Regions from separate parts of the Homo sapiens genome. Here all the other regions are linked to region 4. The links are contacts of gene promoters, found by promoter capture Hi-C in blood cells and fetal thymus (Javierre and others, 2016). All regions are on one chromosome and are shown on one strand. The core of a region is centred on a gene start or on the middle of the fragment in contact, and the rest is flanking DNA. Distances in the headings are between cores, read along the strand shown. Region 1 has its middle 11 kb from the start of CHCHD5. Region 2 holds the start of LOC107985934 (a long non-coding RNA gene). Region 3 has its middle 18 kb from the start of IL37. Region 4 holds the start of IL1A (interleukin 1 alpha). Region 5 overlaps POLR1B (RNA polymerase I subunit B).

Evidence for each region. Contacts are between HindIII fragments. The CHiCAGO score rates a contact against its expected background, and 5 or more counts as called.
Region 1: a contact is called between a fragment that was not itself captured here and the fragment with the promoter of IL1A in region 4, in 2 of 17 cell types (neutrophils and monocytes). The highest score is 10.4, in neutrophils.
Region 2: a fragment that was not itself captured here is called in contact with the fragment with the promoter of IL1A in region 4 in 1 of 17 cell types (monocytes); the score reaches 5.0 in monocytes.
Region 3: a fragment that was not itself captured here is called in contact with the fragment with the promoter of IL1A in region 4 in 10 of 17 cell types (megakaryocytes, endothelial precursors, M0 macrophages and 7 more); the score reaches 11.9 in megakaryocytes.
Region 5: a fragment that was not itself captured here is called in contact with the fragment with the promoter of IL1A in region 4 in 1 of 17 cell types (neutrophils); the score reaches 6.1 in neutrophils.

The regions. Positions count from the first base shown.
Region 1 is chr2:112,593,336-112,597,300 of GRCh38, forward strand. No RefSeq gene overlaps it. Among named protein-coding and RNA genes, the nearest start is that of CHCHD5, 11 kb to the left of the region's middle. The HindIII fragment of the contact is 7,050 bases long and covers 1-3,965 here.
Region 2 is chr2:112,631,239-112,635,554 of GRCh38, forward strand. It overlaps LOC107985934 (a long non-coding RNA gene), which reads left to right and starts at 2,056. Exons shown (of 2, transcript XR_001739642.2): 1 at 2,056-4,316. The HindIII fragment of the contact is 3,990 bases long and covers 446-4,316 here.
Region 3 is chr2:112,927,053-112,931,234 of GRCh38, forward strand. No RefSeq gene overlaps it. Among named protein-coding and RNA genes, the nearest start is that of IL37, 18 kb to the left of the region's middle. The HindIII fragment of the contact is 3,948 bases long and covers 924-4,182 here.
Region 4 is chr2:112,781,845-112,785,786 of GRCh38, forward strand. IL1A (interleukin 1 alpha) reads right to left here and starts at 2,649. Exons shown (of 7, transcript NM_000575.5): 1 at 2,599-2,649; 2 at 1,880-1,934; 3 at 872-920. The coding sequence starts at 1,926. The HindIII fragment of the contact is 4,198 bases long and covers 1-3,942 here.
Region 5 is chr2:112,572,047-112,576,054 of GRCh38, forward strand. It overlaps POLR1B (RNA polymerase I subunit B), which reads left to right. Exons shown (of 15, transcript NM_019014.6): 13 at 516-712; 14 at 1,516-1,769; 15 at 2,801-4,008. The coding sequence ends at 3,683. Among named protein-coding and RNA genes, the nearest start is that of CHCHD5, 11 kb to the right of the region's middle. The HindIII fragment of the contact is 4,253 bases long and covers 190-4,008 here.

The DNA of each region.
Region 1 (3,965 bases), core at 806-3,305, 190 kb before region 4:
GTCTCGATCTCCTGACCTCATGATCCACCCGCCTCAGCCTCTCAAAATGCTGGGATTACAGGCGTGAGCCACCGTGTCCGGCTTTCTTTTCTAATACACTTAAATTTGCCACAAAGCGTGACTTTGTTTTTTTTTTTTTCAAGATATATAATTTGACTTGTCCCATAACTGTGAAGAAATAACAAATCATTCTTCAAAATAGAAGATAAAATAACTATAATAACAACAAAAACCCATGAATGCATTGTTGTAACTTAGCCAATAGTCACGTTTCCTTCTTGCCATCTCTGCCTATAGTAGTCCTGCTCCTTGGATGTCTTTGTCTTTCAATCCTCCTTTTGTTCCTTATTTTCCCTTCTCTACTCTCTTTTGATTTCTCCATTGACCTCAGATTGTTTAGAAGTTTAGAGTCGTATTTCTTAATTTCTAAACATAAGGAGGTTTTTTTTTTTTAGGTATCTTGCTTAATTGCAATTGGGTTGGGAACATTTTATATGATTTTAATCTTTTGAAATGTGTCGAGCCTTTATGGCTTGGCATATGCTCAGCTTTTGTTAATGTGCCATATGTGCTTGAATCATAATCCTTGGTTCATGATGCACCGTCTTAGCTCAGGTTCCCCCAGAAACAGACCCTGGGACAGAGAATTAGAGGTTGATCCCAGTAAGCATTACTAGGGCAGTGGGAAGTGAGACAGGGACAGTCGTCTTGAGTACAATTTTCTATACTGTTTTAACAACTGTCAGAATAATTTTTTAATGGCCCTCCACATTTCTACTCTTCTTTCATCTTTACATGGACTCTGCAGGTTTCCTCCTAGCTCTCTGGCTATGCCACCACCTTCTCCCACCCAGCCGTGACATAATGATTTTCTTCAAGGCTTACACCAGGCCTCTTCTTATTCTCTCCTCTGTGCAGTGATCTCCTTCCTAGAGAATATCAGATAAGTCATTGGTTCACAGATGGTTATCTCCAGCCCTGGCTTCTGCCTTGGGCTTCCACCTGCTGCCATGGACCTTCATATAGATGTCTCAAAGGGAGCACTAAGTCCCAATGTGTCCGGAATTGCAGCAGGCATTATTTTCCCCAGCTTGTCATTCTCACCACCATTTCTTTGCACTCTGCCCCTGCAGAAGGTTTGGTATTGTTATTGTTGTTGCTGTTCTTTTTCTTAGAAGGCCTCACTCCATCTTAAGCCTGGATTTACAATTCCCCTTTTCATTTTTTTTTAATTTTTGTTTTATAGTTTGGGTATACAGTTCCCCTTTTGTTCATTTTATTTATTTGTTTGTTTATTTATTTATGAGATGGGGTCTCACTCTGTTGACCAGGCTGGAGTGCAGTGATGTGATCTCGGCTCACTGCCACCTCCACCTCCTGGGCTCAGATGATCCTCCCACCTCAGCCTCCTGAGTAGATGAGACTACAGGCACGCATGCCCAGCTAATTTTTGTCTTTTTAGTAGAGATGGGGTTTCACCATATTGTCCAGGCTGTTCTCTAACTCCTGAGCTCAAGAAATCTGCCTGCCTTGGCCTCCCAAAGTGCTGGGATTACAGGAGTGAACCACCATGCCCAGCCCCTTTTGTTTATTTTAAAGCTGAAATGAGGACTCAGTTAATTTTGTTGTAGTCTTGTCTGGTGAGGGGCGATTCTTCACCCTTGCTGCCGTCCCTCACACTCTTCCTATTTTCTAAATATGCAGTCAGTCATTTAGATCACATCACCTGTATGAATAAAAGCCTTTCATGTCGGCTGCATTCTTCAGGCTTCTAACTTCTTGCAATTCATCAGTTACGTCTAGTTACATCTGTGGATTCCTGCACCATTGCAGATGCAAAGCAGGAGAAAAGAAGGGTTTTCTTTTCATCTTTTTTTTTTTTTTTTTCTGAGACAGAATCACTCTATGGCCCAGGCTGGAGTGCAATGGCATGGTCTTGGCTCACTGCGAGGACCGTCTCCCGGGTTCAAGCATTACTCCTGCCTCAACCTCCTGAGTAGCTGGGATTATAGACATGCACCGCCACACCCAGCTAATTTTTTTGTATTTTTAGTAGAGATGGGGTTTCAATATGTTGGCCAGGCTGGTCTAGAACTCCTAACCTCAAGTGATCTGCCCTCGTCTGCCTCCCAAAGTGCTGGGATTCCAGGCGTGAGCCACCACACCCTGCCTTCATTTTTGTTTTGAAGGAATTACCTCCTACCCCTTAAGTCCTGCAGTCCCTGAACTTGACCTTATCTGCAGCAAAGATGAGAAAGGGGGAAGGTATGATAAAAGGAGAAAACACTTGCCAATGTTTTCTAAATTAACCCCTGACATTAAAATTTAACATTTTCTGCACTTCCTGATCACAGTCCTGTCTTTTACTCAGTTGTGGGCGTGCACTTTTTTTTTTTTTTGAGGTGGAGTCTCATTCTGTTGCCCAGGCTGGAGTGCAGTGGCGCAATCTCAGCTCACTGCAACCTCCACCTCCCGAGTTCAAGCGATTCTCCTGCCTCAGCCTCCTGAGTAGCTAGGACCACAGGCACGCGCCACCACGCCCAGCTAATTTTTGTATTTTTAGTACAGATGGGGTTTCACCATGTTGGCCAGGATGGTCTCAATCTCCTGACCTCGTGATCCACCTGCCTCAGCCTCCCAAAATGTTGGGATTACAGGCGTGAGCCACCGCGCCCAGCCTGGGCATGCATATTTTATGGATCTTAACTCGACTTTTAAATTTTCTTTGAGCATCTGGGAATTTTATGAAAGCACTTTGTTAGTTTCTATTAGTGTCCCCTATATCCAAAATTCTCATTAAAGAATGCCGTTTCCCATCTCTCAAGAATTTATCAATTCAGGCTGGGCATGGTGGCTTACGTCTGCAATCCCAGCACTTTGGGAGGCCAAGGTAGGCTGATTGTTTAAGGTCAGGAGTTCAAGACCAGCTTGGCCAACATGGTGAAACCCCGTCTGTACTAAAAAAACAAAAATTAGCTGGGCATGGTGGCAGGTGCCTGTAATCCCGGCTATGCGGGAGGCTGAGGTAGCAGGATTGCTTGAGCCCAGGAGGCAGAGGTTGCAGTGAGCCGGGATCACGACGCCACTGCACTCCAGCGTGGGCGACAGAGTGAGAGTCTTTTTTTTTTTTTTGAGACTCACACTGTGCACAGGAAGAAAATTATGTGAATGTCCTTCCTAACAGGGAGAGGCCTTCCCTGACCTTGCTCCCCTTGGGCTGCCATCAGCATGGGGCTTTCTTAGGTATCAAGGCCACCTCAGTTTGGAGAGATGCCAGAAGTGGAAGTGTCAGCCAGACCATGTTTTCATTCTACTTGTCTATATTAGATCAAAGTCAGAGAGAGAATCTCAGTTCATAGAGGGAACACTTTATAACCTGTGTTTATGGAGGAGAATCACATACCAAGTGGAATCACCTTGAAGCAAGGCTTGTGTGCCGGGGGCGATGGCTCGTGCCTGTAATCCCAGCACTTTGGGAGGCTGAGGCAAATGGATCACTTGAGGTCAGGAGTTTGAGACCAGCCTGGCCAACATGGTGAAACCCTATCTCTACTAAAAAATACAAAAATTAGCTGGGCATGGTGGTACATGCGTATAATCCCAGCTACTCGGGAGGCTGAGGCAGGAGAATCGCTTGAACCCAGGAGGCAGAGGTTGCATTGAGCCAAGATCATGCCACTGTACTCCAGCCTGGGCTACAGAACGAGACTCCATCTCATAAATAAATAAATAAATAAATAAATAAATAAATAAATGGGATTTCGAGACCAGGCTGTCCAACATGATGACCATGTTTGTATTAACTTAGCTGGGCGTCGTGGCACATGCCTGTGATCCCAGCTACTTGGGAGGCCGAGGCAGGAGAATCACTTGAACCCGGGAGGCAGAGGTTGCAGTGAGCCGAGATCATGCCATTGTACTCTAGCCTGGGTGACAAGAGCGAAACTCTGTCTCAAAAATAATTA
Region 2 (4,316 bases), core at 1,191-3,690, 150 kb before region 4:
GAAGGTGCTGGCTCCTCCTCCCAACTCCAGGCACCCTGACGCCACTTTGTCAGTGTGGTTTTCACATCCTGTCCTAGCGGTATGTTTGTCTTTTCGCCCCCAGATTCACAGCTTCCTAAGTGAAGGAGCCAAGTCTTGCTCTTTTCTTTACCCTAGAACAAGATACAGTTTCTGATCATACTTAATATTTGATGAACAGATGTTTTCCTTTAAACGTTTAAAGTTTAACTTTTAAAATCTCAGTAAGAAATACATCTGACATTACCACCCAGACTCATACACACATGTCACTGAATCAAAAGTTTCATGAAATAATACTTACTCTGTTGGATGCACTCTGATATTTTCTTTAATTTCATTTTTTAAAAAGTGCTTGTGGGGACTTGTAGGTGGAAAGCCATGGTCCTAAAGTGTACGGAGAAGCTGTCATTGCTAAAGTGAGAGAAGCTTTGCTTCCAAGCTAGGATCAGGTTAGGATTAAACTATAAACAGATGAGGGCTTCTGTTTGCTCTGATCTGCAGACTGAGAGAGTCTGGCCTCATTAAGAAACAGAAGCCAAGGCGGGGCTTACTGACGATGATGGACTTCAAGCTCCTAGGGCCTGCTCTTTGCAGCTTTCCTGTTCAGTACTTTATATCTTTCCTTCACTCCTTTAACATACCCATCCCTAACTCACAAAGATTCCCCAGACTCCACCTGGTACCCCAGCGATATTGTGTGCACAGCTCTACGATGGCTCTTGTCACACTGTACTGTAATGCAAATCTTTTTTAGGTGGCTAGCTCTTCAACTGAGCTGCTGGAGGGATCCCGGCCAGGGAAATGCTGGCCAAAAAGAGTGTGTGAATGGGAGGAGAGGAACTTTTGCATCTTGGGGTCTAGAGGTGCCCATCTCTTCCTTGTTGTTGCCTGGGCAGGGGGTCACCACTGGCTCTGGAGCCACAGCGGGGAAAGGCAGGCCAGGGTACACCGCGGTGGAGCAGAAGGGCAGGGAGCAGTGATGTAATTCAATTACAGAACTCGGTTATCCCTTCACTTTGTGTAGAAACGTCACCACTTAATAAATTTTTTTGTTTGTTTGTTTGAGACAGAGTCTCACTCTGTCACCCAGGCTGGAGTGCAGTGGCATGATCTCAGCTAGCTGCAGCCTCTGCCTCCCGGGTTCAAGCGATTCTCCTGCCTCAGCTGGAGAGTCCTACTCTCCTGAGTAGCTGGGACTACAGAGGTGCACCACCACACCCAGCTAATTTTTGTATTTTTAGTAGAGATGGGGTTTTACCATGTTGGCCAGGATGGTCTCGATTTTCTGACCTTGTGATTCGCCCACCTCGGCTTCCCAAAGTGCTGGGATTATAGGCATGAGCCATCGCGCCTGGCCACCACTTAAGAAATTAATAGTCCCAGCTACTTGGGAGGCTGACGCAGGAGAATCACTTGAATCTAGGAGGCGGAGGTTGCAGCGAGCCAAGATCACACCACTGCACTCCAGCCTGGGTGACAGAGCGAGACTCTGTCTCAAAAAAAAAAAAAAGTAAGAAATTAAGAAAATAGGCTGAAGGTGGTGGCAAGTGCCTGTAATCATAGCTGCTAGGGAGACTGAGGCATGAGAATTACTTGAACCCAGGAGGCAGGGGTTGCAGTAAGCCGAGATCACGCCATTGCAGTCCAGCTTGGGTGACAGAGCGAGGATCCAACTCAAAAAAATAAATAAATAAATAAGCCGGGCATGGTTGCACATGCCTGCAGTCCCAGCTGCTTGGGAGGCTGAGGCAGGAGAATCACTTGAACCTGGGAGGAGGAGGTTGTAGTGAGCAGAGATAGTGCCACTACACTCCAGCCTGGGCGACAGAGCAAGAGTGTCTCAAAAAAAAGAAGAAGAAGAAACAAAACCAAACCAAAGAAAATGCATGACTGTTCCTCTTAATTATTTACCTAGCTCTGTTTTGTTACATATTGTAGTTGTAACCCATGAGCAATAGATAAAATGTCACTAGATAGAATGTTTGTGGCCGGGCACAGTGGCTCACTCCTGTAATCCCAGCACTTTGGGAGGCCGAGGCAGGCGGATCACCTGAGGTCAGGAGTTCAAGACCAGCCTGGCCAACATGGTGAAACCCCTGTCTCTACTAAAAATACAAAAAATTAGCCGGGTGTGGTGGCACGCACCTATAATCCCAGCTACTCGGGGGGGCTGAGGCAGGAGAATCGCTTGAACCTGGAAGGTGGAGGCTGCAGTGAGCTGAGATCGTGCCATTGCACTCCAGCCTGGGCAACAAGAGTGAAACGCCATCTAAAAAAAAAAAAGGTAACAAAAAACTCTCCCTCAAATTCGTGTTGATACCTAATTCCCAATGTGATAACATTTGGAGGTGCGGCCTTTGGGAGGTGATGCAGTCATGAGGGTGGAGACCTCATGAATGGGATTAGTGCCCTTATAAAAGAGACCACCAGAGAGCTTCCTCTCCCCTTCCTTCATCTGAGGACACAGTGAGAAGCCAGCTGTCTATGAACCAGAAAGCAGGCCCTCATCACACATTGATTCTGCTGGCGTTTTGATCTTGGACTTCCCAGCCTCCCTGTGAGAAATGAATTTCTGTTGCTTACAGGCCACCTGGTCTATAGTCCTCTGTTACAGCAGCCTGAATGAACCAAGACACCCATGTACACATTTACAAACAAAACAAGTACGGCCTAGCCCACATTCTCAGGAGCTTACAATTTTCCTTTAAGTAAAGTTACGTGGGAAGACCCTGAACTGTGGAGCAAAAAGGGCCTGCGTTGAGACTAGCTCTCCTGCTTGTCGTGCTGTGGTCTTGAGAAGCACCTGAACTCTTTGACCCCTTTCTCCTCATCTGTGGAATTAGGGTAACTATGCCATTCCCCAGGCTTGCTACCAGGAGGAGAATGCGGGGACAGACTTGGGAGCAGCTCACATTCCTGAAGAAGTTAACGTTCTAAGGTATGGTGGTGACAAGCCGGACCGGGCAGAATACATTCTTCCCGTGGTGAAACAGAGGAAAATAAAGCTGGACAGACAGTGAAGGGCCCTGTCATGGAAAGCTCCAGCCAGACAGAGCGGTCTGGAGTTTGTTTTGCAGGCAGTGGTCATGGGGAAAGGCTTTGTGAAACTCACGGTTCAGCGGCTGAGTCTCACCGCCTGTGTAGCTTGGGTGGGGTGGAGTGAGACTGGAGGCTGGGAAGCACCTGAGAGGTGTCAAGGGCTGCCGTGTGGACTTAGCCTGGGGCAGTGGGAGGGGTAGGGGTGGAAGGCAGGCCACAGGAGTGAAAATAGGGCCCCGGTTTCCAGGGCGTCGTTCCCCCTGCATCTTGCTCTCTGCCTTTCTCCTCTTGTCCTTCTGTCTCCACCCCTATCCCCATCTCCCAAATGCTTCAGAGCATAAAGGTGCTGCCCAGCCAAAATCACCCGCACAAACTCCAGGTAAACTTGGTCTGGGCAGCTTTGAGTGGGTCATGAGTGGAGGAAGGGCAGGCCCACTCTTTCCTTAGTATATGAGTGAGAAAAGCGACCGCTGGTTAGATCTCACAGGAAACCAGAGCCTTGTGGCAGCACCTGACTTCAGGTGCAGCACAGCCCACGGAGTGAGAAGCTGACACCTCTGTGCCTGCTGAGGCAGGCTGCTCCTTCTACACCAGGCCAGGGAAATCAGGTCACCCACTCCAACAGTCTGCCGGACGCTGGGGACTGACTGCTGCCTCTGGGGCATCCACCACAAAGGATTCATGGACTCACTGACAGGGCCAGGCACCTGGCTAAGGATCTCAAACTGGTGCGGCCCACGGGTCCATTCAATCTATAGATGGGTTTTGTGCGGCCAACACCGTCCTTCTTGTCTACCTGTTGTATATGCATTCTGGCCTTGCCCCTGAGTTTATGAATTTACCAACCCCACCTTAGCAGGGCATGAAGAAATGCAAAGGCGCTCCAGGAGCTTCTGATTTTGCTGGGAAAACAAAACAAGTATACAGGCAAAGAGGGAGGACAATGGCAGACCCAATGCATGGGGCAGTCATCTGCATTTCTGAGTTGAATTTAGAGAAGAGATCTTCTCCCACAGATGATAAAGGGGTGCATAGAGGTGAGGTGCACACGGCCTGGGGGAAGTCAGCCCTGGGATGAGCATGGGAGAGGGAGGTTCCCCAGTGGGGAAGGACACGAGGGTATGGACTGGAGAAAATCTGCATGGCTGGGCCCCATTCCACAAACAGAGGGCCCCGAGAGGTGTCTGCGTAAGGGAGTGATGATGAAGGCACATGGGGAGAGTGTACAGGACTGGGCCACCCAGGAATCAATAATC
Region 3 (4,182 bases), core at 1,648-4,147, 150 kb after region 4:
AGTCATCATGGAAGGGGGGCGGGGAACTCCCTGGTGTTGCCATGATGACGGTAAACTGATATGGCGAACTGGTGGGTATGTCACATGAAAAGCTCCTTCCACCCCAGCCCTGTTTCAATTAGTCCTCGGTTTGGTCCAGTGTCCAAGTCCTGCCTCCAGAGTCAAGTCCCACCCCCTACCTCTTAAGGAGAGATGTAAATACATGGAATAGAATTGAGAGTCCAGAAATAATCTCATACATCTATGATCAATTGATTTTCAGCAAAGGTGCCAAGACCATTCAATGAGGGAAAGAATCATATTTTCAACAAATGGTGCTGGATAACCACATGTGAAAGAATGCAACTGGGCCCTTATCTCACACCATATACAGAAATTAACTCAAAATGGCTCAAACACTTACATGTAAGAGCTAAAACTATAATATTCTTAGAAGAAAACAGGGATATATCTTTATGACCTTGGATTTGCTGGCTGATTCTTAGATGACACTGAAAGCACAAGCAACAAAAGAAAAAAAAATAGGTAAATTGGACCTCATCAAAATTTAAAACTTTTAGGCTGGGTGCACACCTGTAATCCCAGCACTTTGGGAGGCTGAGGCAGGAGGATCTCTTGAGCCCAAGAAGCTGAGGCTACAGTGAGCCGAAATTGTGCCACTGCACTCCAGCCTGGGTGACAGAGCAAGACCCTGTCTCGAATAAATAAATAAACAAATATATAATTATAGATCTCTGGATCTTGCCTTCGGAGACTGACTCAACTAACTGGTCTGGGTGGGAGCCCAGCCATTTGTATTTTTTGAAAACTCTCCAAATGATTTTACTGTGCAGCCAAGGTTGAGAATCACTGTATCATAGGGTTGGACTCCTAACTGGAAACAGTTTGCACCATCAGGTGTCGCAGCATTCTGATAATAGTTAAGCTTTCCTCCTAGATTTTCTGATATTAGATGAGTCATGTTTACAAGTTTTTACCAAGAGACAAACTATCTTTCTGCCCTTACTTTCTCTCTTATACTATTCTAATCCCAGAACCCTTTGGAACTTCCACTGAGAGATGAATCTAGAAAGTGACTCTCTTGGCTACAACAGAGAGTAATGTTGGCCTGTTTGTGCCAGATCCAGTTGGTGCTGGTGGTGGGACAGCACCTCCCTGAAATCCCCTCCTCTCCCGTCAGATTCAGTCCCCCATTTGCATCACGTACAATCATCACTATGGGTTTCTATTACCTTGCTAGGGCATTTGGAGGTACCATATATACCAACTATTAGTTTTGAGCCATGGTTCCCAAAGTGTGGACTGTAGGGCACCTCAGCACACTCACGAGGTGTCATGGGATATTTAAATATTCTGAAGAAAACACAGTGACATCTGTCAGGCCCGTGAAAACCGTTGGCATTAAATTGTCTCAACCCAATTGCTTAAGAAGCAGAACTGGCCAGGCACGGTGGCTCACATCTGTAATCCCAGCACTTTGGGAGGCCGAGGCGGGCAGATCACGAGGTCAGGAGTTCGAGACCAGCCTGACCAACATAGTGAAACCCCGTCTCTACTAAAAATATAAAAATTAGCCATGCATGGTGGCATGCACCTGTAACCCCAGCTACTCAGGAGGCTGAGGCAGGAGAATTGCTTGAACCTGGGAAGCGGAGGTTGTAGTGAGCCAAAATCGTGCCACTGCACTCCAGCTTGGGTGATAGTGAGACTACATCTCAAAAAAAAAAAAATGAGAGAGAGAGAGAGAAGCAGAACCATCAGGTGTTTCTTTTGGCTTAAAGTACTCGGTGAAGAAATTCCTGGGACACGAAGGATACCATGAACTGAGAGATTTTGGGAACCTCTGCTTTAGAAGCTGGAGGTAGCATTCCTTGGGCACAGTACTGCCTTGGGATCAGCAAATCCTTTTGATGGTGCATTTAGGTGTGGCAAGACAGCTCTTAGAGTGGGACCGGGATGTGCTTGGAGACAGAGGGAACTAGATTGAGCTGCCCGATAAAGACATGCCAGCCTGGCAGAGTGTAGTGACTCATGTCTGTAATCCTAGTGCTTTGGGAGGCTGAAGTGGGAGGATTGCTTGAGGCCAGGGGTTTGAGATCAGCCTGGGAAACAACAAGACCTCTACAAAAAAAAAAAGAAAAAAAAAAATTAACCACATGTGGTGGCATGCACCTGTAGTCCCAGCTACCTGGCAGGCTGAGGTAGGAGGATCACTTGAGCCCAGGAAGGTAAGGATACATTGAGCCATGACTGTGCCACTGCACTCTAGCCTGGGTGACAGAAAGAGACTCTGTCTCAGAAATAAATTAAATAACTAAATAAATATATAGTGGCCATGACATCCCTAGAAAGACAAGGTCCTGGGAATAGGTAGAAGCCAAGGGAAATGAGAAATGAGAGGGGGCCCTGGAGCTGGAACTGGGGGAGCAGGATGGCCTCTGAGAAGTTCCTGATAGTGGTGTCACTGATGTGTCTGATGTTTAGTTGTAATTATTTGCTGGGCCCCTGTCATCCCTCATATCTGATAGCTCTTTGCTAGTCAAAGTGTGGTCTGGGGATCAGCGGCATCAGCATCACTTGAGAACTTGTTAGAGATGCAGAATCTAGAGCCCTACCCGGGACCCAGAAACAGAGCCTGCATTTTAACAAGCTCCCCAGGTGATTCTCACACACACTCGCATTTGAGAAGCACTGGGCTAGTTGACAGATTCTCAGGCATGGCTGACATTGAAATATCCAGGGAGCAGGCTTGGCATTAGGATGTTTAAAAGTCCTCCAGGTGTTTCTAAAGCCAGGTTTGAGGAATTACTGGGCTGATACAAATGTTTTGTGATGATGCTTTGTGTGTGTGTGTGTGTGTGTGTGTGTGTGTGTGTGTTGGGAGTTCTGGGTCAGTTGGCACCAACACAGGAAACAATTGAAATATGTGAGCCATGACAGAAAGGTCAGGAGATAAAAGAAATTAGTGACATGAGAGGTACTCCTCAGGTGTTAGGAAATAGGGTAGAGCAAACCAGGTTTTCCACCATATGTTGGATAGGGGTTCAAGTAAATTTCTACTTAAAAATTACAAACAGGGGCTGGGCGCGGTGGCTCATGCCTGTAATCCCACACTTTGGGAGGCTGAGGAGGGCGGATCACAAGGTCAAGAGATTGAGACCATCCTGGCCAACACGGTGAAACCGTGTCTCCACTAAAAATACAAAAATTAGCTGGGCATGGTGGTGCGTGCCTTTATTCCCAGCTACTCGGGAGGCTGAGGCAGGAGAATCGCTTGAACCTGGGAGGTGGAGGTTGCAGTGGGCCGAGATCGCACCACTGCAATCCAGAGCGAGACTGTGTCAAAAAAAAAAAAAAAAGAAAATTCCAAACAGGATGACCCTAAGCCTGCAGGACTTGGAGACATCTAGGTGACTGATACTCAGTCACAAAACATAATTGGTCACAGGCCTGATGAAATGCACAGCAGACCTTCAGATGGTATGCACTCAAGTGATATCCACAAGTCCACCTAAAGAAATGCTATATTCAAACATTTGGCATCAATCTCTATCAAACAAAGATAGTCCAAAGCAATGGGTTCCAAAAACACTTTCCTAAGACAAATTCTCTATTTGCTTTTAATATCAGTCATCCCAGCCCTTGGAATAGAGGAGCAAATGATACCAGTGGTACCCTACCACAATGCACCAAGGTATTATACTCTCATGCTCCATTTTCTCCCTCTGTCTACATCACTAATAACTCATTGATTTCTGGTGCAAGCCCTCCTGGGAGAAAAAGTCTACTCTTGTACCTTGGAGCAAGTTGTTCAGAGTAGGTATCGAGGATAAAATTTGGAAAGTTAGAAAAGCTATTAGAAGGAGATCCTAGTAGTTGAAAACACAGCCTGGCCAAGTCAATGATGCTATTTCATCTCCCCAGCCTTGCATGTCCATAGCTAAGGAAGACAATTTAGGCTTGGGCTAGAGGATGGGAAAGGGCAAAATTACTGATGCCACAGCCCAGAGAGGTATTCTAGTAATCTGAGGGTGAGGACCACATACCTGGTTCAGGGACGTACAGTGTTGACAGCTGTGAGTGGATGCCTGGAGTTCTGGCATGTCTTCTAGCACAATGATACCTGAGACTCTTGCATCATTGGGAATAATAAAATGGGAGTGGATAGATATGAAATTATGA
Region 4 (3,942 bases), core at 1,399-3,898:
GAAGCTGAGAGGCTGTTCATGGTCAGGGAATGAAAGTTCTTTCAGTAGGTGCTGTATTCAACAGAGGTAGTGAGGAGGATCTCCATTCTGGTCTTAGGTAACTGGTGTTTCATTAGGCTTCCCTCCCTCTCTCCCTTTTGTCTCACCTTCCTTCCTCCTTCCAGGATAAAAAGATGATTTTTTTAGGAAGACTTTTTCATTTATTTGCATGCTCAAAAATGAGATGTTGTAACTAAATAGGTTAACAATGATTGTAGTGAGTGGTAGCTTTCCAATTAGTTCCCTCTCAGGAGGTTAAAAATCTGCTTAACAATGCTCAAAATATTTTAGAAATACTCCTTTGGGGACAGCTTTTAAAGCCAGTACTGAAGACATACTAGGCAGTACTTATAGTGTCTATTTGTGGTCTCCAAACACAATAACACAGATTGATGAGTGGCTGTAGACTTCTCACTTTCAACTGGCTTGCTTCCTCTCTCTCAGCTTCATGTTTGGAGACTTTCTCTAACCTCTGATGCTGGTGTCAGAGAAGACAACCACAACACATCACGTTAGGAGACAGACACCTGGTGAAGCGGCCTGCGGGGCCTTTCTCAGGATGGCATAACTAACATCCTGATGAAGCCTGCCCCAGGAGACTCCAGTTCTCAGGGATTTGGGATGGTTCTGCTCTGTTCTGGGAGAAGCCAATGCACATCAACTATTAGTTTAGAGAGGCAGCTGGTCTCACTTATAATGAAAGACAGGTCTCTGGACCTCTAGTGAGGGTAAAACAAAAGTATTGAAGATTCAAGTCATTGCTGTTCTCTTTGGATGAAGAAACCACTGTGTAAGAATAGCAGTCCCATGAGAATTACAGTCATTTGCTTACCTGATTCAGAGACAGATGATCAATGGAGGAACTGTCTTCTTCATTTTCACTGTCAAAATAAGATGATGAGAATGTAATTGTTGTTATTTCAGTGTGGTCTCTGGCCAATGTACTTTAATGACCATGATAGTTGTGGGTCACACACATACACATGGCCATTACTGTCATCTTTGAAATTTAAGGACTTCTACACATACACATAGGTAGAGTAATTCATATCTTACTAATCTGGAATTAGTAGTCATCAAGACAGGCTTTGAGCTTTACCTGTGCTTTATCTGTAAAAATTGGACTTGGCTAACAAATTGAAGAGCTTTAATTGAAGTTCAGGGAAGAATGTTAAGCTCCTTTAGAGAAAAGAAAGGTTTTGAAGCACTTCCTTTTTATTTTAACCAAATAGATTATATGTTACACATTACTTTCATGTATTCACTAAAACAGATTTCATAATTTATACTTAGTAAAATATCCAGGCAAAATTTTGACAGCCTAGTTTGTGTTAGTATTTACTACAGATAATGGAAACATCATGTTAGTTTAATATGTTCCGTAATTTTATCTTTGTGTTCATTTACCTTTCTTCTACATCTGAGTGAGATTTGCCTGCATATGTGAGTTCACATGCCCAGCTTGCTGTGGAGCCATTTCCTGTTCCTGAATGAGATCAAGTTTTCCTGAGAATGGACCAGTAAAACCCATTCTTATATCAGGGCATGTGATCTCAACAGAGGCTGTGTCTAAGTTGATGCTGATATTCATGTAGGGCTCAGCAGACCTCAAAAATAATTTTTCTAAAATGGCGGTCTCCCTGCCAATGTAATCTCAGTTTAACATGCTGAATGCTTAGTTTTTCTGGGTCTTCTCTGAACCTGCTCTGACTTCAGGACTAGTACACATCTCTACAACCTCTGCCGGCCTGCCCCCATGCTGGCCACTGTTATGCCTAGCTGGATTCTGGTGAGCCTTGAAACCCTCATTAAATCACAAGAGATAAATCTTATTCCTTACCTGTAACAGTTCTTCAGGTCTTCAAACATGTCTGGAACTTTGGCCATCTTGACTTCTGCAACAGAGAACACCAGCCACCATCAGCTCAGCCAGCCTCTAATCCAGATATCTGTGAGGGGAGCCCCTCCTCTTTGTGCTTCCTGAAAACTTTGTTGAATGACTTAGTCCACATTCAGCATTTTCTCCATCTTCTAGCTCCTTTGAATTAGTTTGCTATGTACCTGTCTCCTTTATTAGATCGTAAACTTCTTTTAGAATGTTTTATTTATGTTGGTATTCCTTATGTGCCCAACCTAATGTATTGCCAGAACAGGCATTCAATCAATGAAAGTTTGAAGAGGTTACAAAAACACCACAAGAATAAGGTATTTGCCTTACACAGAGGTAAGAGAGAGACAGAGTTGGAAATTTTCAATTTTCTCCTAATAATTTTGGATAGTAGAGATTCCCTCCCATGAGAAGCCTCAGTTGTATTCACCCATGCCCTCATAGGAAACTAGTTCTGCTGTCCCTCAGTATAACGAATCAGTCCTTATCAGCAAAATGAGAGAATCATTTTCTGAAATCTGACTGTAATTCTAGGTCACATACCAAACCAGGGAGGGACAAGAAAAGAAAGGAGAGGCTGTAGCTTTAGAGAAGGCAATGTGAGAGAAAACAGCCAAAGAGAAAAACAACAACAGAAAATACTTTAATAGCCAGAGATGTGAGGACAATACCTTTGCTGACTCAAACGCCAATGAAATGACTCCCTCTCTGGCTGGCAGCTTAAGCCTGAGTCAGTCTTCTTCGCCTTTTGTAATTGTCTTAAGTAGGCGTGGCTACGTGGCTACAAGTGCGTCGTCAAAACGGGGAATTTACAGGGAAGAATTCAGTTTTGTATTTTTCTATGTTCATTCAACTCGATACTGGCTAAAATAGTGAAAGATGGCATAGCTGATATTATTGTTGTTTGCAGATATTCCAGAAGTTATTGATTTGGTTCATTTATTCACCCCTTTGCTTTATAAGATGACAAACATGTAGTCTTAGAAAAAGGGAAGCGCGGGAAACTTATCAAGTTTCTAGGAGGAAGGGAGAAATCGTGAAATCCGAAGTCAAGGGGCTAGATTTGGAGAGGAATTTATTAATAATAATAGTTCTAATAGTAGCTGTAGTTGTGTTCTGGCTGAATTTGTTGATTGTGCTCCAGGGTGAATTGGCAGAATACTTGGCAGCTCCTGGCAACTTTTGAGGGAAAATGAGCCATCTTTTCTGAAGAGGGAAGTTTGCTTGATTAAGGCATAAATCACCTCAGAGTTTGGGGTGACAAGCTCCTGGTTAGGGCAGGGTAGAGAAGAGAACAGTGGTATTTGAGCACAAAGAAGTCTTGATCCTCTTACTCTTCTGAATATTGTCAACACATTTCCTATAGAGGGGATGGAGCTTCAGGAGAGAACTCTCCACCCTGGCCCTGTTACAGTAAAGTAGCCCTCTACCAAGGACCAGAGAGAAGCCTGGTCTTCTGTAGGATATGCCCAAGGTGTGTCTTCTGTAGAAGAAGGTGTGTGCAAGCCCCGGGAGGTATGCGTAAGGCCTCAGCCAGAAGCCAGTGGCTAAGTTTGGGAATGGAGATTGGGAGAAAGGAAGGCATGGATTTTTACATATGAGCCTTCAATGGTGTTGCCTGGTTACTATTATTAAAGAATTTCTCAGCTTTTATAATTCCTGTGGCCAGCCTAGTTCAGGTGGTAGAACACCAGACTCTTAGCAAATGAATGTTTTGGGTTCCCAGTTGGAGTTTAAGCCATGTATATTTTAAATAGAGGAAATGAACTAGGTGTGATGGCATGCCCCTGTAGTCCCAGCTATTCAGGAGGCTGAGGCAGGACAATCACTTGAGGCCCAGAGTTTTAGTCCAGTGTGGGCAACATAGTGAAGCCCCCATCTCTAAAAAATAATAAACGCAAAAAAGCATGGATCTGGGAGGAAAGCAGCTTGTGTGAGTTGGATAAAGTATTCCCTCTGTTCCTGTTTAATTGTAAATAATGGGGTTGGTTAGGTGTCATAAGGTCTATTGCAGG
Region 5 (4,008 bases), core at 1,066-3,565, 210 kb before region 4:
TGTCGTGAAATGATTCTCTGTACTGTGAGGTAGTACACAGAGGAATCTCACCCCATGCTCCACTACTTAGAATTAAATACATATTCCGCTGTAAGAAAGTAATCTAATTACGTAATAATTCCTATCCCCTTTTCTTCCCCGAGTAGTGATAGCCTGTAATTTGCGTACTTCCTTTCTGTCCCCTTCTAAAGCTTTTATTACATCATACATGTATCCATAAACTAAGTATAGAATTGTTTGGGGTGTGTTGCAAATACACATAAATCGTATCATATTAAATGTCAGTCTGCACTTTCTCCCACTCAGCATGGTTTTCCTGGTCTGGTCACGTTGATACATTTAGGTTTACTTCATTTTCACAGCTTATGTATTAGTCTAAAGTAAGCATAACTACCATGACTATTTATTTGTTCATTTTCCTCTGATGGATATTTAGTTGTTTCCAGTGTTGCGTATCACACCTATAATCAAGATGAAAGCAGCAGAAAATGCTAAGATGTTTTTTCTCCATGTAGGTAAGCAAACTATGGGCTTTCCACTTCTCACTTATCAAGACCGATCGGATAACAAACTGTATCGTCTTCAGACTCCTCAGAGTCCCTTGGTGAGACCCTCCATGTATGATTATTATGACATGGATAACTATCCAATTGGGACCAATGCCATCGTTGCTGTGATTTCTTACACTGGCTATGATATGGAAGATGCCATGGTAAGTTTTACCAGGAAATGTTGTTCCAATCTTTTTATTTTTTAACTTGTTTGTTTACTGTGAAATCACTGAAGGAATATTTTTGTGTACCCAAGTACCTAGTATTTGGCACGTGATGTTCTATTAAATGATTAGTTCTTAGTCTAAGTTGAAAGTGGGCAAGCCTTGAGGAATATCCACTAAATATTCAGATACACGTATGTCTTGCATATTTGAGTGCATATTATGAGTAAATTTTGAAGTTTGGTTTTGGATCTATCTACCTTTTATATTTAAGTATGATTAGATTTTAAGCTATTTCTGTGTGCCTGGGTTTTTGTTTTTCTTGTTTTTTGTTTGTTTGTTTTTTGTTTTTTATTTTTGAGACGGAGTCTCGCTCTGTTGCCCAGGCTGGAGTGCAGTGGCACGATCTTGGCTCACTGCAACCTCCACCTTCTGGGTTCAAGCAGTTCTCCTGCCTCAGCCTCTCGAATAGCTGGGACTACAGGCACCCATCACCATGCCTGGCTAATTTTCGTGTTTTTAGTAGAGATGGGGTTTCACCATGTTGGCCAGGCTGGTCTCGAACTCCTGACCTCAAGTGATCCACCTGCCTTGGCCTCCCAAAGTGCTGGAATTACAGGCGTGAGCCACCGTGCCCAGCCATGTCTGGGTTTTTGTAGTTAGTATCAGTGATTTGGAAAATGTGAGGAAAGTTAAAATGTGATGCCAGTTATCCTAAACCAAGTATGATAGTCCCACCTAGTTTTATTTTGAAAATCCTCAATTGGCCTCAGTCTTTTAACGATTCTTTTACTTCACAGATTGTGAATAAGGCCTCTTGGGAACGAGGCTTTGCCCATGGAAGTGTCTACAAGTCTGAGTTCATAGACCTCTCTGAAAAAATTAAACAAGGAGATAGTAGCCTGGTGTTTGGCATCAAACCTGGTGACCCACGCGTTCTGCAGAAGTTAGATGACGATGGATTGCCGTTTATAGGAGCAAAACTGCAGTACGGAGATCCGTATTACAGCTACCTCAACCTCAACACCGGGGAAAGTTTTGTGATGTACTATAAGTAAGTTTGGGTATCCAAGCTGTTTTGTTTTTGTTTTTGTTTTTGTTTTGAGACAGGGTCTCAGTGTGTCAGCCGGGCTGGAGTGCAGTGGAGTGATCTCAGCTCACTACAACCACCACCTCCCGGGCTCAAGCAATCCTCTCGCCTCAGCCTTTGAGTAGCTGGGACTCCAGGCATGGACCACCATGCCCAGCTAATTTTTTGTATTTTTAGTATAGACGGTTTCACCATGTTGCCCAGGTAGGTCTCGAACTCCTGGGCTCAAGTGATCCACCTGCTTCAGCCTCCCAAAGTGCTAGGATTACAGGCCTGAGCCACCATCCCTGGCCTATTTGTGCTTTTTTTAAAAACTGTATTATCCAAACTTTGTCATCTTTCTCACATACAATGTTAGCAATGTTTCCTAGCCAAAATGTTGAGCTCATACCTCTTATTAGAAATGTCTTATTTTAGCTTATTTTACAATATAATTTATTTCAATAGGCTTTCATAATAATTTTTCAGTTGCTTTTGTTGCTAGTTTTCTTTCAGATGAACATAATTCTGTAGTGAATATCACCAATAGCTCTATTCATACCATCTCTGTTTGTATTGGAGAATAAAGGTAAGAATGAGTTTTGCAGGCCAGGCACAGTAGTTCACACCTGCAATCCCAACACTTTGGGAGACCAAAACAGGAGGATTCCTTAAGCACAGGAGTTCATGATCAGTCTGGGCAATGTAGTGGGGCCCTATCTCTACAAAAAAAATTTAAAGACTAGCCAGGCCTAGTGGCATATACCTGTAGTCCCAGCTACTCAGGAGGCTGAGGTGGGAGGATTGCTTGAACCCGGAAAGTCAAGGCTGCAGTGAGCTGTAATTGCACCACCGCACTCCAGCCTGGGCAACAGAGTGAGACCCTGTATCATAAAAAAAAAAAAAAAAAAAAAAGTTTTACAAATATCCTTTATGAAGCACTAATTATATCAATGAAACTTATCTCCATAAGTTAAAACAAATAGGTTGACCTTATATGGTTTACTTTTTCCTAGGAGTAAAGAAAATTGTGTTGTGGATAACATCAAAGTGTGCAGTAATGACACTGGGAGTGGAAAATTCAAGTGTGTTTGCATCACTATGAGAGTGCCTCGGAACCCAACTATCGGAGATAAATTTGCCAGTCGCCATGGGCAGAAGGGCATTTTAAGCAGATTGTGGCCGGCTGAGGACATGCCTTTTACTGAGAGTGGGATGGTCCCAGACATTCTGTTCAATCCCCATGGTTTTCCATCCCGCATGACCATTGGGATGTTAATTGAGAGTATGGCCGGGAAGTCTGCAGCTTTGCATGGTCTCTGCCATGATGCTACACCCTTCATCTTCTCAGAGGAGAACTCGGCCTTAGAATACTTTGGTGAGATGTTAAAGGCTGCTGGCTACAATTTCTATGGCACCGAGAGGTTATATAGTGGCATCAGTGGGCTAGAACTGGAAGCAGACATCTTCATAGGAGTGGTTTATTATCAGCGCTTACGCCATATGGTCTCAGACAAATTTCAAGTAAGGACAACTGGAGCCCGAGACAGAGTCACCAACCAGCCTATTGGGGGAAGAAATGTCCAGGGTGGAATCCGTTTTGGGGAGATGGAACGGGATGCGCTTTTAGCTCATGGTACATCTTTTCTCCTTCATGACCGCCTCTTCAACTGCTCAGATCGGTCGGTAGCCCATGTGTGTGTGAAGTGTGGCAGTTTACTCTCTCCACTGTTGGAGAAGCCACCCCCTTCTTGGTCTGCCATGCGCAACAGAAAATACAACTGTACTCTGTGTAGTCGCAGTGACACTATCGATACTGTTTCTGTGCCTTATGTTTTTCGGTATTTTGTAGCTGAACTGGCAGCTATGAACATCAAAGTGAAACTGGATGTTGTTTAACTTGATGTTGACCTTTTGGATTAAGAGGACTATCAGATTAAAGCAAAATGTAATTTTAATTCAATGAAGATATCATTACCAGGTTACTCTTGAGATTTTTCAACGGTGTTAGAACTCTCAACCAAGACCTGAAAACCAAGTATGCAAGGTTTCTGAATCTCTCTGGTAGATTAACTATTGACAATGATTTTCTGTTATCTTTGTTCAAAAAGTTCATGTCTTCTCAAAATATGAAATATTGATAAATGGAAGAGCATACGGTGACAAGTCTCCTTTCCAACCCCAGGTTCCCTACACCCTGCTCTCAGCAGGCAGTGAGTGTCAC